Linked DNA regions of Homo sapiens: all the other regions are linked to region 2. Evidence: promoter capture Hi-C in 16 types of primary human blood cells and fetal thymus (Javierre and others, 2016). All regions are on one chromosome and are shown on one strand. The core of a region is centred on a gene start or on the middle of the fragment in contact, and the rest is flanking DNA. Distances in the headings are between cores, read along the strand shown. Region 1 overlaps KAT6A (lysine acetyltransferase 6A). Region 2 holds the start of IKBKB (inhibitor of nuclear factor kappa B kinase subunit beta). Region 3 overlaps KAT6A (lysine acetyltransferase 6A). Region 4 overlaps KAT6A (lysine acetyltransferase 6A).

Region 1 (3,290 bases), core at 553-3,052, 280 kb after region 2:
AGAGGGATAGATTTGAGAGAAGCTTATGGTGGTTTATGCTCAGAGTAACCTGGATGGATAAGATATATGGTGGTCAGAAAGAATTTTTTGTTTGAGACTGAAAAGTGTTTGATCTATAGATTTAATTCTTAAAAATTTTTCTTAAGACAAAGTGAGTTGTTTTTATGCAATTGGATTAAAAGATAACTAACTTCCATGTAGGTACAGTGAAAATAAAATGGCTAACATTTAAATTCAGTAGCCAAATATAATTGTTATTAGTAACTTTTTTTTCCATTTTTGATGGGCTACAATTATATTTCTAATTCTGTTTACTGCATACCAGATTTAACATATTCCTAGGGTTCCACAGGAATGGTTAAAAATACAGGTTTCAAGATGAGAACAAATTATAGTAGTTGCTTTTCATTGCATGGGTTTTGACCTATTACTTAAATCATCTGATTTGTGAGAATATGAAAAATCTATACTAATTGGTTTTGTTCATTTTTATATTGTAAAATTTATATAAAAATTTACCATTTTAACTATTTAAGTGTATAATTCAGTGGCATTAAGTACATTCACACTGTCGTGATACCATCAATTTCTTTTCCATCCATTCAGAACGTTTCCATCATCTCAAACAGACTCTGTATCCATTAAACAATAACTTCCCATTCTCCACTTCCCATGGCCTTTGGTAACCTGTTTTATTTTCTGTCTCTATGAATTTGTCTATTCTAGGTACCTCATATAAATGGAATCATATAATATATAATATATGTCCTTTTGTGGTACACTACTAGATTTTAAAGAAACGAGTTGCAATAATTATAGTTGAACATAAGTTTTGTGTATGCCTTAGTCTGTTTTCTGCTGTTGTAACAGAATGCTACACACTGGGTAATTTATAAAGAAAATATGTTTATTTGGTTCATAGTTTTGGAGACTGAGAAGTCTAAGATCAAGGGGCCTCATCTCTCTGTGAGGGCCTTCTTGCAGTGCTATAACATGGCATAAGGGCAGAAGACAGAAGCGAGCACGCAAGACAGAGAGGAAAAGGGGGCCAAATTCCAACGATAACTAGCCCACTCCCCTGATAACAGCATTAATCTAGTCATGAGGGTGGAGCCCTCATGGCCCAATTACCTTCCGAAAGCCCCCACCTCTTAACAACACCAGACTTGGAGGGGACATTGAAACCATAGATACTTTATAGATGTTTTGTATTTAAATCTATGGTAGGATGTGCTCATTATCCTTTTTTGTTGCTTAGTGCATGTTTGAGTGTTATAGGGAGTATTACATGAATTATATGTGTACTTCTTCCATACTCTTTTAATTGGATATGCCAGTGTGTCTCAGTAATTTCCAGTGGCTGTAAAACTTGAGAAATTTTGTAGCTTTTAGAAACCACATACCTGTATTGCCTGATTGCTTATTAAGTGATCTCTTAGAGGTTTCCAAAGTTATGAGTTTGAGTTTACAAGTGCAGTTTTTTTCCATGAAAATTTCAGTGGTGACAAATTATAGAATTTATCATTCAATTCAGTCTTAACTAGAAATAATTGCATATAATAAAACAGGTTCTTGACTGTTCTTTTTGTCAGTGTTTAAGAATAGAGACAAAATAAAGTTAGATTTGAGTGCCTCAGAAGATATTAGAAAATAGAGATAAGGTTTATGGCCTTTAAAAAATTAAAGACAGTATTGGGGGAAAGAAATGAAAATTGGGACCGGGCGTGGTGGCTCACTCCTGTAATCCCAGCAGTCTGGGAGGCCAAGGTGGGTGAATCACCTGTGGTTAAGAGTTCGAGACCAGCCTGACCAACCTAGTGAAACCCCCGTCTCAACTAAAGATACAAAATTAGCTGGGTGTGGTGGCACATGCCTGTAATCCCAGCTACTCGAGAGGCTGAGGCAAGAGAATCACTTGAACCAGGAGATGGAGGTTGCAGTGAGCTGAGATCACCTCATTGCACTCCCGCCTGGGCAACAAGAGCAAAACTCCATCTCAAAAAAAAAAAAAAAAAAAGAAATGAAAATTGGACTTTTTAGATGGGAATATCTCAGATGATATATCTGTGTATCTAGAAAATGTCATTATTTAAGATATTCTAAATGGTTATGATTAAAAATTATTTCATGGTATAAACTTCAACAGAGAGCATTGGGCAAAATTTTTACTGTTCCTGTTTTTAAAAGTTCAAGTCAGAATGCCTGCTTGTTACCGAATCATCCACCCTGTGTTTGCCTCAATACTGCCATCTGGTGATTATTATAGAGATCTCAACAGGGTGCTTAAAGGAGATGTAGGGCAACCGACGACACAAGGTACACAATATTGGTGCCCTCTGCCTCAAATCTCCCTCTGCTTTTGAGTTGCTATGGCAGAAATCTTACTTAGTTATGGCCATGAAATCACTTTGTGAGATTGCTTTGTAAACAATAGAGCATTTCTGTACTGCTGTGATTATTACTGCACTACACATGGCTTTTTATCAGGCTCATACCCAACTCATTGTTCTTTCTATGTAAGGTACTCTTATTATATCTAGTTCTACAAGGTAATTCAATTAATTATTCAGTAATACTTATTGAGTGACTTCTATATACTAGGCATTGTTTTTATTTTTATTTTTATTTTTTTTTTGAGATGGAGTCTCGCTCTTGTTGCCCAGGCTGGAGTGCAGTAGCACGTTCTTGGCTCACTGCAACCTCTGCCTCCTGGGTCCAAGCGATTCTCCTGCGTCAGCCTTTTGAGTAGCTGGGATTACAGGTGCCTGCCACCATGCCTGGCTAATTTTTGTATTTTTAATAGAGACGGGGTTTCACCACGTTGGCCAGGCTGCTCTTGAACTCCTGACCTCGTGATCCACCTGCCTCAGCCTCCCAAAGTGCTGGGATTACAGGTGTGAGCCACCGTGCCCAGCCTAGGCATTGCTTTTAGTAGTAAGAATATGGTCCTAAAAAACAGGTGAAAATCAGAGTCTTCATAGAAGTTACATTTAGTTAAGAATAAATAATAAGATATACATACACACATGTTAATTAGTGAAAAGGGTTAAGGGGAAAAAACAAAGCAGGGAAGGAACTTGTGAATTATTGGGGTTGGTGGGTTGCTTTGAAATGCTAGATGGGGTGTTCAAAAAAAGCCTTACTGAGAAGGTGACTTCCTGAGTAGAGATCTGAAAGATCTTGGGACGAACATTCTAGATATAGAAGGAAAGCAAATGCAAAGGCCCTGTGCCTGTAACCACTGCCTTGAAAACCTAAGCAAGGAAGCTGGAGTGGAGTGTAGAGGGAGA
Region 2 (3,082 bases), core at 204-2,703:
TGTTAGCCAGGATGGTCTCCATCTCCTGACTGCGTGATCCGCCTGCCTCAGCCTCCCAAAGTGCTGAGATTACAGGTATAAGCCACCACGCCCAGCTGGCTGCCTAATTTTTAAACCTTTTTTGTAGAGACGAGGTCTTGCTATGTTGCCCAGGCTGCTCTTGAACTACTGGCCTCAAGGAATTAAAATATTTTAAATTATTTATTTAGTCTCATCCTTTAAATTTTCCTATTTCTATATGTTTTATAACATATAATATCAGTATATATTAGTACATGATATTCTACTGTTACCATATATATATAATAGAGACTAAGAGCTTAACTTTATTTTACTATTTATTTAGGTGACATAGTCAATAAAGCATGGAGACCACTAACCTGGAGTCAGCTCAGAAGTCCTGAAGCCCTCTTCCCAGTCCCCCTATTCACTGTCCCAAGATGACCAAAGCCAAAGGTGAGCCCTTGGCCCAGCAGGATCAGAGAAAGTGGAGGCAGTGAGGAGGGGGCCTGGCTCCCCGCCCCTCCCCAAGCTGCACAGAGGGCCTACCTGATTGTGCCATCGGATGACATTTCCAAATCCCCCTGTCCCAAGGCGCTCTTTCATTTCCCAGGCCCCACATGTCTGCGTTGTCAGGGAAGGTGACCAGCTCATACTGATGTCGTGCTAACTCTATAAGCAATTTGGGATGGGGAAAAAAGGTTAGGATTAAGAAAAAAATGGAGCTCAAAGGGATGGAGAAGGCAAGAGATACCACTGCTCTTGAATGGGAGAGAAGAAAAATACAACTGGTTTTTTATTTTGTAAAGAAACCAATGTGTTTGGTTGGTCCAAACTTTGTGGCAAACTTTTGTCCCTCTCACCCTCCCCCATCCGGTTGCTGTGGCATCAGGCAAGGAAGAAAGTCACCGAGGGAGGCGATGCCCACGCCCTTGCCCTAGCGAGGGGATCCCCAGCTGACTCCACCAGGGGCGCCCGGGCCTGCCCGCCTTCTGCCCGAGGTGGCAGGGGCAGAACCTACTTCTGAGCATCGCCGAGGTCACGTGTTTCTTTACAATGTTCCCATAAATCGCAGGTTCCCCTCAAAGCCACCCACCCCCAAGAAGCCACCCCAGGGAGAGCTGTTTCTCCCGGCTTCCCGAACTCCAACCCGCACAAGTGAAACGCTCCCCAGTCCGCAAGCTGCGACTTCCCAGCGGCACAGAGGGGTCTTCCGGGCCTTGCAGGCAGCGGGGCGGCGGGGCCTGCAGGTGGCACCCGGGCCGCACCCACGAGGGGGACTCACCTGTCGGCAGGGACGCGGGGCAGGGGGCGGGCTCCCCGGGGCGGGGAAGGCGGGGCTGGGGCGGCCAAACCCGGGGCTATGACACCCCCCTGAAAACATTAAAATGCGGGAATCTTAACGCGGGCAGCGCGGCGCGACTTCCTCAAACACTTCCTGCTCTGACGTCACGGAGCACGTTGGCCGCGGCCGCTCTTAAAGAGGCCGCTCCCGGCGCGAGGCAGACCAGGTCCGGATGCTGCGAGTGCTGCGCCTGTCCCGGGACCCTCGACCGGGCGACTCCCCCGGGGCGGGGGTGGCGTGTGGTCTCTAGACAACTGAGGGAAAGTAGACAGACCGTGCTCACCGATTTAAAAGAACAGCCCTGAAATGACCCCCGTTACACCCTGTTCTCTTTAGACAAGTTACTTCCACCTGGAGCGGTTTCTGGGCCCGGGTATGGGGATTTCTTCACCCGGCCCCCTAGGCTTTCACCTCGGTGGAATTTCCCGCGCCCCCGCTGGGATGATTTAGGGACTGTTGGCTAGAACTGCCCTTGCCTACCGCCCTACTGCGGGCGCTCCCCTGTCTGGGGGGTGCTTGGCTGGGTGTGGAGAAGGATCAATCACAGCTGACTCCTCAGAGGTGACAGCCCCTGCCCCCTTAAAAACAAGAAAAGACCTAGCAGTGTGAAGCCAAACTGCACCCCCAGCCCCGGTGACATGAGGAAACCGTGAGGCGCTCAGCCTGAGGTTCATCGTTCATCTCCTTCCTGCTTGGAATCAGAATGTCCTCACTGCTGAGTTTCTCCGTTTTATGGGATTACATTAGTGGACAAAGGAGGTGTGTGTGTGTGTTGCTATATTTTATTCAAGCAGAAAAAAACTACCAAAGGAACCTGAAGATGATAATAATAGCTCACATCTATAGAGTGCTTACACAGTGCAGGGCTCTGTTCTAAATCTCTGTACTTAGATTTCCTTATTCAATCCTCAGGGCAACCCTGTAAATTGGAAAATACTGCATCATCATCATCATTATTATTATTATCTCGCTCTGTCACCCAGGCTGGAGTGCAGTGGTGTGATCACAGCTCAGTGCAACCTCCAACTCCTGGGCTCAAGTGATTCTCCTGACTACAGGTGCGCGGCCGCCATACCTGGTGGCGGGGTCTCACTCACTGTGTTGCCCAGGCTGGTCTCCAACTCCTGGGCTCAAGGGATCCACCCGCCTGGGCTTCCCAAAGTGTTGAGATTACAGGCTGTGAGCCACTGCACCTGGTCTGCATTATTATTATTTCCAAGGTACATGGCTGCTACGTAGATGAGCTGATACTCAAACCCTAGCAACTGGTTCCCGGGTTCTTAATCCGTGGCTAAAAGTAGCATGTTAAGAAGTTCAGAAGGAGGCAAACTGGATTTTGAATCCAGATACTGCTGTTGACTACCTCTGAGGCACGGGGGCTGGTTACTTAAACACTGTGAGAACCTATTTCCTCTTTTAAAATTTAGGCAATATTAGGTTGAATTGCATTTAATTGTCATTTTTTGGAAATTGAAAACAGCCAAAACATCAGTAACAAAGATCAGCAGTTTCATCTGCTTCATTGTAATAGCAGGGGGACAGGCGGGCTCATAGAAAGTCATAGAAAGGAGGCCACCCCAGAGTTGTTGTGAGGGACAAATGAGGTATTGATAGCAGCAGTGCCTGACAGCCCTGGGGTTGAAGTTAACTCAGGGACAGATCTCAACCCAAACATAGGGGTCAATGGTGTCCAGGGCTGTGCTAGGCACGCTGGCTGCTCGGTTTCTCCCCTCTCCC
Region 3 (3,314 bases), core at 484-2,983, 300 kb after region 2:
TGGATTGCTTGAGTCTGGGAGTTTGAGACCAGCTGGGGCAAAATGGCAAAACCCCATCTCAAAAAAAAAATAGAAAAATTAGCCAGGTATGTTGGTGCACACCTGTAGTCACAGCTATTTAGGAGGCTGAGGCAGGAGAATTGCTTGAGCTGGGGAAATGGAGGTTGCAGTGACCTGAGATCATGCCACTGTACTCCAGCCTGGGTGACAGAGTGAGACCCTGTCTTCCAAAAAAAAAAAAATTGCAATTCTTTGTGACACATGGCAAGATCGTAAATATATAGACAGAGTCTATGTGCCACATGCTGGAGATGCCAGTGAATGACTGAATTCTTTCCCTGAACTATAGGAGAGATTTGTGAATAAGTAATGTCATTAATATGAAAAGTTCAATTATAGAATACTTGATGTTTTGGGAGAATAGGGAAGCCAGCTTCTACTTCTGCCTGGGGAGGTCAGAGGAGGATTCATTGAGGGGCCTTAAAGGATATGTAGGAGTTGTACATATCCCTTAAAGGGATATGTAGGGAGTTGGTTCTTATATAATCAGAAGGAACAGAAGTGAAGGTGGAATAGACTTGAAGATAGGGGAAAACATGCTTAATTGTGGGAATTAAAATGGCTCAGGATAAAGAATATAGGGTGTGGAGAATGGCAGGAGGTGAGGTTGGAAAAGTGCAGGGGCTAGATCATAAAGGCTCTTCCAGATTATGTTCATTTATTTTTTGTCTTTTCCTTCTTTGCCACCAACAAATGTACCATGTAAGCCAAGTTCTCTTTTATCTTGAAAAGAAGAATTTCTAGGCTGGGCACGGTGGCTCACCCCTGTAATCCCAGCACATTGGGAGGCCGAGGCGGGTGGATCACTTGAGGTCAGGAATTCGAGACCAGCCTGGCCAGCATGGTGAAACCCCGTCTCTACTAAAAATACAAAAATTAGCCGGTGGCACACGCCTGTGGTCCCAGCTACTCGGGAGGCTGAGGCAGAAGAATCACTTGAATCCGGGAGGTGGAGGTTGCAGTGAGCCGAGATCGTGCCACACCACTCCAGCCTGGGCAACAGAGTGAGACTCCATCTCAAAAAAAAAAAAAAATTCTAAGGCTGATGCCGAGGGTTCTAGGGAAAACTCTTCATATTAAGAGACCCAGTGGTGGTGAATAGACTGTTGATGTCGGTCATTATGTGAGTACTTTTGGAAAAATAAAACAGCAGTACAAATACTCAGCACGCATTTACTCAGCATTCTGCTGTATTATGATTTAACAAAATATTGGCTTTGATTCAGGTGGATCTGGGTTCAAGTCTTGATCTGTCATTTACTAACTTCTCCTTTGGGCAGGTTGCCCTCAAAGCTTGTTTCCTTTCATGCTAGTGAGTTATTATAGGTACTCTAGTAGAAATCTACATGGACTTCAGTGGGAACTGAAAGGAGGCAGTAGTTATGTTCTTCCTGACTGAAAGAATTTTTTTTTCTCCTCCCGAGTAAGTTGCAGACATAATGTGTTAATATCCCTTTACTCCTAATTTTTTGTGTGTATTTCCTAAAAACAGAAATGTTCTCATACATGACCATGGTCCAATCATCAAATCAGGAATTTAACACAAATTAAGTACTATTATCTAATTTAGTTGTCACGTCTCTCTAGTCTCCTTCCAATTGGGAACAGTTCCTCAGTCTTTATCTTTCATGACCTTGACAGTTTTGAAGTGCACAGGTCATTTATAGAATGTCATCACTTTGAGCTTGTTTTATTTTTCATGATTAGAAAATTCCACAGGTGTGCTGTGTCCTCCTCAGTGTGTCACATCAGAAGGCATGTAATATCCAAGTTCTCATCACAAGTGCTGCTAACAGTGACCACCTGGTTTAGGTGGTATCCATGTTTCTTCTCTAACATTGCTTTCTACCTATAATTAAGTATCTTGGGGGGACATACTTTGAGACAGAAATGCAGATAACCTGTTTTTCATCAAACTTTTATCTACCACATTTAGCATCCAGAGATGATTTTTGCCTGAATCATTTACTTTGTTGGTGGCCAAACATTATTTTCTAATTCTATCATTTCTTTGCCATTTATTAATTGGCATTCTATTGTAAGGAGAAGCTTTTTCTTCTTCCTATTTGTTTATTCATTTTGTTTAAACTCATAGATTATTTTATGGTTATAATCCATTGCTATTAGTATTTATTTTGATGCTTAAATTGTTCCAAATTTAGGCAGAGGGGAACTCCTTTCTAGAAGCTCCTCTGTCCTTTTAACACATCATCATCATTTTTATTTACTTCTGGCCACAGCAAGATGTTCTAGGCTCTTACTGTTGTAGCCATAGATTCTGGCTTTTAGTGGTGAACAAGAGTAAATGGTAGCTCTATCCTGTACTTGCTTAGGCCCACAGAGATGTCATCTTGATTTTTTTTTTCTCTGTCATACTTCACATTCAGTCCATCAGCAAATCCTAATGGTTCTGCCTTCAGAATATGTCTGTATTTGCTACTGCCAACCCACTGTCATCTCTGGCTTAGGCTGCTATAATTGCCTCCAGACTAAACTTGCTTCTGCTTTTGCCACCACCCCACTCTCTAGTCTATTTTCTTCATACAGCGGCCAGGGTAATTATTTTTGAACGTAGGTTGGATTATACCACTTCCTTGCTTAGAAAACCTTTCATGTCTTACAGTCTTCTTTAGAATTAAAAAAAAAAAAAAAGAGTCTGTTCTCTCATCTCCAAGGCTGTATATGATTTTGTGCCTGCCTCCCTCTTTGGCTGCTCTTTTTGCTCTCAGGCTACTCCAGCCACAGCCGCCTCCTCTTCCTCAGACACACCAAGCATGCCTGCCTTGGGCCTTTGCAGTCGCTGCACCTTGCCTCGATGGCCCTTCCTCTAGAGTCGATGATTTAGTAGGTTCACTGCCCATTCCATTTAGGTCTTGCTCATATCCACACGAAAATAGCTTACAGCCCATTGTGTCACTCTATCCCCTGACCTGCCTGCTTTTTCTGCATAGTACCTACCACCTCTTGAATTTAAATTTTTTATTTCTAGAATGTAAGTGCCTTGAGAACGAGGCCTTTCTTTTTTTTTTTTTTTTTAAATTATACCTTAAGTTTTAGGGTACATGTGCACAACGTGCAGGTTTGTTACGTATATGTATACATGTGCCATGTTGGTGTGCTGCACCCATTAACTCGTCATTTACATTAGATATATCTCCTAATGCTATCCCTCCCCCCTCCTCCCACCCCACAACAGGCCCCGGTGTGTGATGTTCCCCTTCCTGTGTCCATGTGTTCTCATTGTTCAGTTCCCA
Region 4 (3,248 bases), core at 683-3,182, 320 kb after region 2:
TCCATCCTCCTGCCAATGAGATTTACAGAAAGAATAATATTTCTGTCTTTGAGGTAAGGTAGATACTTAGTAATTGTCCTCTCATCCATTTCATAAGTAGGGCCACCTATATTGCATCTATTGTGCAACTTTCTATTGTCTATTTTATGTATCACTAAAATGGAAAAAGTACTAATTATAATTTTTAAAACTTCATTTGATTATAAAATGCCAGTTGATTTTGCATATATTAAGATGTGATAAAAGTACATCTTAGAATCTATGAAATATGGCATTTAAATGAAAGGATTTCTATCACTTATTTAAAAGGAATATCTCACAGAGATCTGTTTAATAGTAAATCTTGATGATGATGATGATGATGATGATGATGTGTGACCTCTGCTCTGTGATTCTCTATTGCTGTTAGTAGCGCTCTTGATCCTCAGTTCTGTGGTTTTCGTGCCAAGTATTAATTGAGTACTTGCTTATGTGCCGTTTACTTACTGTAACAGTAAAATTTCAGATTGTCAGGATCCCCTCAGTCTCTCACTTTTCTTGGTCCTCCCTAAGACTCTTTTAAGTGATCAGTAGAGGAGTTCTTTACCTTGGGAGAAGCTGGGGTAGGTGTGGTATATACTGTTTGAAGAGAATATTAAACTACCTGGGTTGTTGAGGAGTTCTGTTAGTATCGCAGACAGTGTCTTGGGAGCTAATGTGGGCATCCATTGGCGTTTTGATAGAAAGCTCTGGCAACTCCATGAACACAGACAAGGCTGCCAGGAGCAAAAGAGCAGCAGAGTGCTCCTGGGCCTGGCCAACCTGGAGCCTCATTTACCACATGATTGCTTGAGGAACCCGCTTGGTGCTTCTGCGTGGCAATAGTTAGTACCCCCTTAAGTAGTTTTATCTGGGTTCAAGCCCGATCATGGTAGTCAGATTGCATTGCTTCAGGCAGCTGGCATAGATTAGACTACATAGTTACATCTTCTTTTACCTAATAAATGTATTTTAGAAGGGTTGTATTTAGATCTTTTGTTGTGTTAAGTACTTTGAAAACGAAACTTGCTATCTAAAGGATTGCTACAATTCATCTTTTTATTAAAGCAAAAATTGCTCTTTTAAAACCAGATTATCACTTCCTTATCTGGCTGTTCCTGCTATGTTGAAGGTATGAGGTTTTATATATTTGGTTGTCTTAAAACAGCAGATAGCATAATACTGCCATTTCAAAGGATGGCTTCCAGGTTCCAAAGTGTTCTGGTCATGGACACCTTCTCCTAGTCTGGACTGTGGATATCTAGAGATGCTTTTAACTGATACATATTATTCTAGAACTAAAGAGACCCTCTACTGACTGTTTTGTTCTGTTTATTTCTCTAGGTTGATGGGAATGTGAGTACCATTTATTGTCAAAACCTGTGTCTTTTGGCAAAGTTGTTTCTTGACCACAAAACCCTCTATTACGATGTGGAGCCATTTCTTTTTTATGTACTAACACAGAATGATGTCAAGGGCTGCCACCTTGTTGGCTACTTTTCTAAGGTAAGTATGTCAGCTTAAAGTTTGTTTGAACTCATATAGAAATCTGAAAGAATCTTTGCTGGTTCTCACTCGGGGACACAACAAGATGCAGCACCTCCTAGGTGTCATCTAGCTGTTTGGAAAGAATAGAAGGAACATTTGGAAACTTACCAGGTGCTAGAAGGTGCTTAGTAACATTCAACAACCTATATTCTCCTAGGATTATGGACTGCTGGCAATACTCACGGGGAAGGTTTTAAATGGCTTCTCTTCCCATGGTAATAACATGGAACTTCTGAAATAAACAGTCATTAGCTCTCTGAGTTCTGTCTCAGCTTCAATCTTCTCTTCCTTATTTGAACTTTAGGCATAGAAATAAGAGTAAGAAGGCATTTTGGTTAAAGGATATTTTCTCCTTTTTTAATCTTCCATTCCCTTAGAGGGAGAAAGTTTATTTCTAGTCAGAGAACATAAAAGATATACTTTTATTTAAGCAAGCCTGTGGTAAAATCCAAGTGTATAAAACAGTTAGGGGAAGTACTAGCTTTTTATAAGCATTTATAAGAATTCTTTAGGCTACTTCATTAGTTAGATGTGACTTAAAATATATTCACTCATTTATAAAATTATAAAAGTGACTATTTTGTGTAAAGTTAGATACAACTAATAGGACTGCTCTGAGGAGCACCAGAGCAGGAGAGAAAGAAAACTCTGACATAATTAATGAGTCTTCTCACTTCTAGAGTGGCACACTGATTCATCATTTGTAGCTTTACGGATTGTTTGGGACTCAGATTCCGGTGCTGATCCTTAGGCATTGGCGTACTGTGTTTGAGTTGCAGATGGTGTTGGATGGCATTGTTTTGTTATATATTTTTACTCTCCTGGGATGGTTGCTTTGTGGGTAATGGCAGTGACTTGACATTATCCTATCTTCTCCCAGCTGGGTAGTTGTTTGTTGATGTACGTTGCTATTCCCAAAGGACCAGGGCTGTGGGTTTTGGCCATTAGTCTTTGTTTCTTAATTCACGTTATTATTCACTTTTACCAGCCTGTTTTCAAACTTGACTTGTGTTTTCTCCACCAGGAAAAGCACTGCCAACAGAAGTACAATGTTTCCTGTATAATGATTCTTCCTCAATACCAGCGTAAGGGCTATGGCAGGTTTCTCATCGATTTCAGTAAGGATTATATTAATTTCTCATTGGTCTTTTCCAGTGGACCTTCTCTGTGTGTGTGTGTGTGTGTGTGTGTGTGTGTGTGTGTGTGTGTGTGTGTATATATATATATTTAAAGATTTGTAGGTGCTTTGTTGGCTGCTAGTATCTTTTGTCATATAGCTATATGATTCTTTAAAACCTAAAGCCACTGCTGGACACTGTGGCTCATACCTCTAATCCCAGCACTTTGGGAAACTGGGGTGGGAGGATTGCTTGAGCCCAGTAGTTCAAGACCAGCTTAGGCAACATGGCAAGACCCTGTCTCTACAAAAAATTTAAAAAGTTAGGTGGGCATGATGGCATGTACCTAGGGTTCCACCTACTCAGGAAGCAGAGGTGAGAGGATCACTTGAGTGCCCAGGAGGTTGAAGCTGCAGTGAGCAATGCTACCCCTGCATTGCAGGCCCTAGCCTGGGCCACAGAGCAAGACTCTGTCTCAAAATAAAAATGGAAATAAATAAAACCTAAAGCCACACGTTCCTTTTATTTTGGTTGGACACGAATTTTTTTTTTTTTTTTTGAGAG

Evidence for each region. The method cuts DNA at HindIII sites, captures the fragments that hold promoters and counts their contacts. A CHiCAGO score of 5 or more calls a contact.
Region 1: a contact is called between a fragment that was not itself captured here and the fragment with the promoter of IKBKB in region 2, in 4 of 17 cell types (naive CD8 T cells, activated CD4 T cells, naive CD4 T cells and 1 more). The highest score is 5.9, in naive CD8 T cells.
Region 3: a contact is called between a fragment that was not itself captured here and the fragment with the promoter of IKBKB in region 2, in 2 of 17 cell types (neutrophils and total B cells). The highest score is 7.0, in neutrophils.
Region 4: a contact is called between a fragment that was not itself captured here and the fragment with the promoter of IKBKB in region 2, in 1 of 17 cell types (non-activated CD4 T cells). The highest score is 5.3, in non-activated CD4 T cells.

The regions. Positions count from the first base shown.
Region 1 is chr8:41,994,402-41,997,691 of GRCh38, reverse strand. The region is part of intron 2 of KAT6A (lysine acetyltransferase 6A); the gene reads left to right. Among named protein-coding and RNA genes, the nearest start is that of KAT6A-AS1, 56 kb to the left of the region's middle. The HindIII fragment of the contact is 3,556 bases long and covers 25-3,290 here.
Region 2 is chr8:42,269,673-42,272,754 of GRCh38, reverse strand. IKBKB (inhibitor of nuclear factor kappa B kinase subunit beta) reads right to left here and starts at 1,453. Exons shown (of 22, transcript NM_001556.3): 1 at 1,286-1,453; 2 at 550-672. The coding sequence starts at 654. IKBKB-DT (IKBKB divergent transcript) reads left to right here and starts at 1,505. Exons shown (of 4, transcript NR_185843.2): 1 at 1,505-2,104. RefSeq lists a silencer at 1,173-1,462 and an enhancer at 1,959-2,458. The HindIII fragment of the contact is 12,915 bases long and covers 1-3,082 here.
Region 3 is chr8:41,971,009-41,974,322 of GRCh38, reverse strand. All of the region lies in intron 8 of KAT6A (lysine acetyltransferase 6A), which reads left to right. Among named protein-coding and RNA genes, the nearest start is that of KAT6A-AS1, 79 kb to the left of the region's middle. The HindIII fragment of the contact is 756 bases long and covers 1,356-2,111 here.
Region 4 is chr8:41,946,027-41,949,274 of GRCh38, reverse strand. It overlaps KAT6A (lysine acetyltransferase 6A), which reads left to right. Exons shown (of 17, transcript NM_006766.5): 10 at 1-53; 11 at 1,363-1,524; 12 at 2,591-2,684. Among named protein-coding and RNA genes, the nearest start is that of KAT6A-AS1, 100 kb to the left of the region's middle. The HindIII fragment of the contact is 4,864 bases long and covers 1-3,248 here.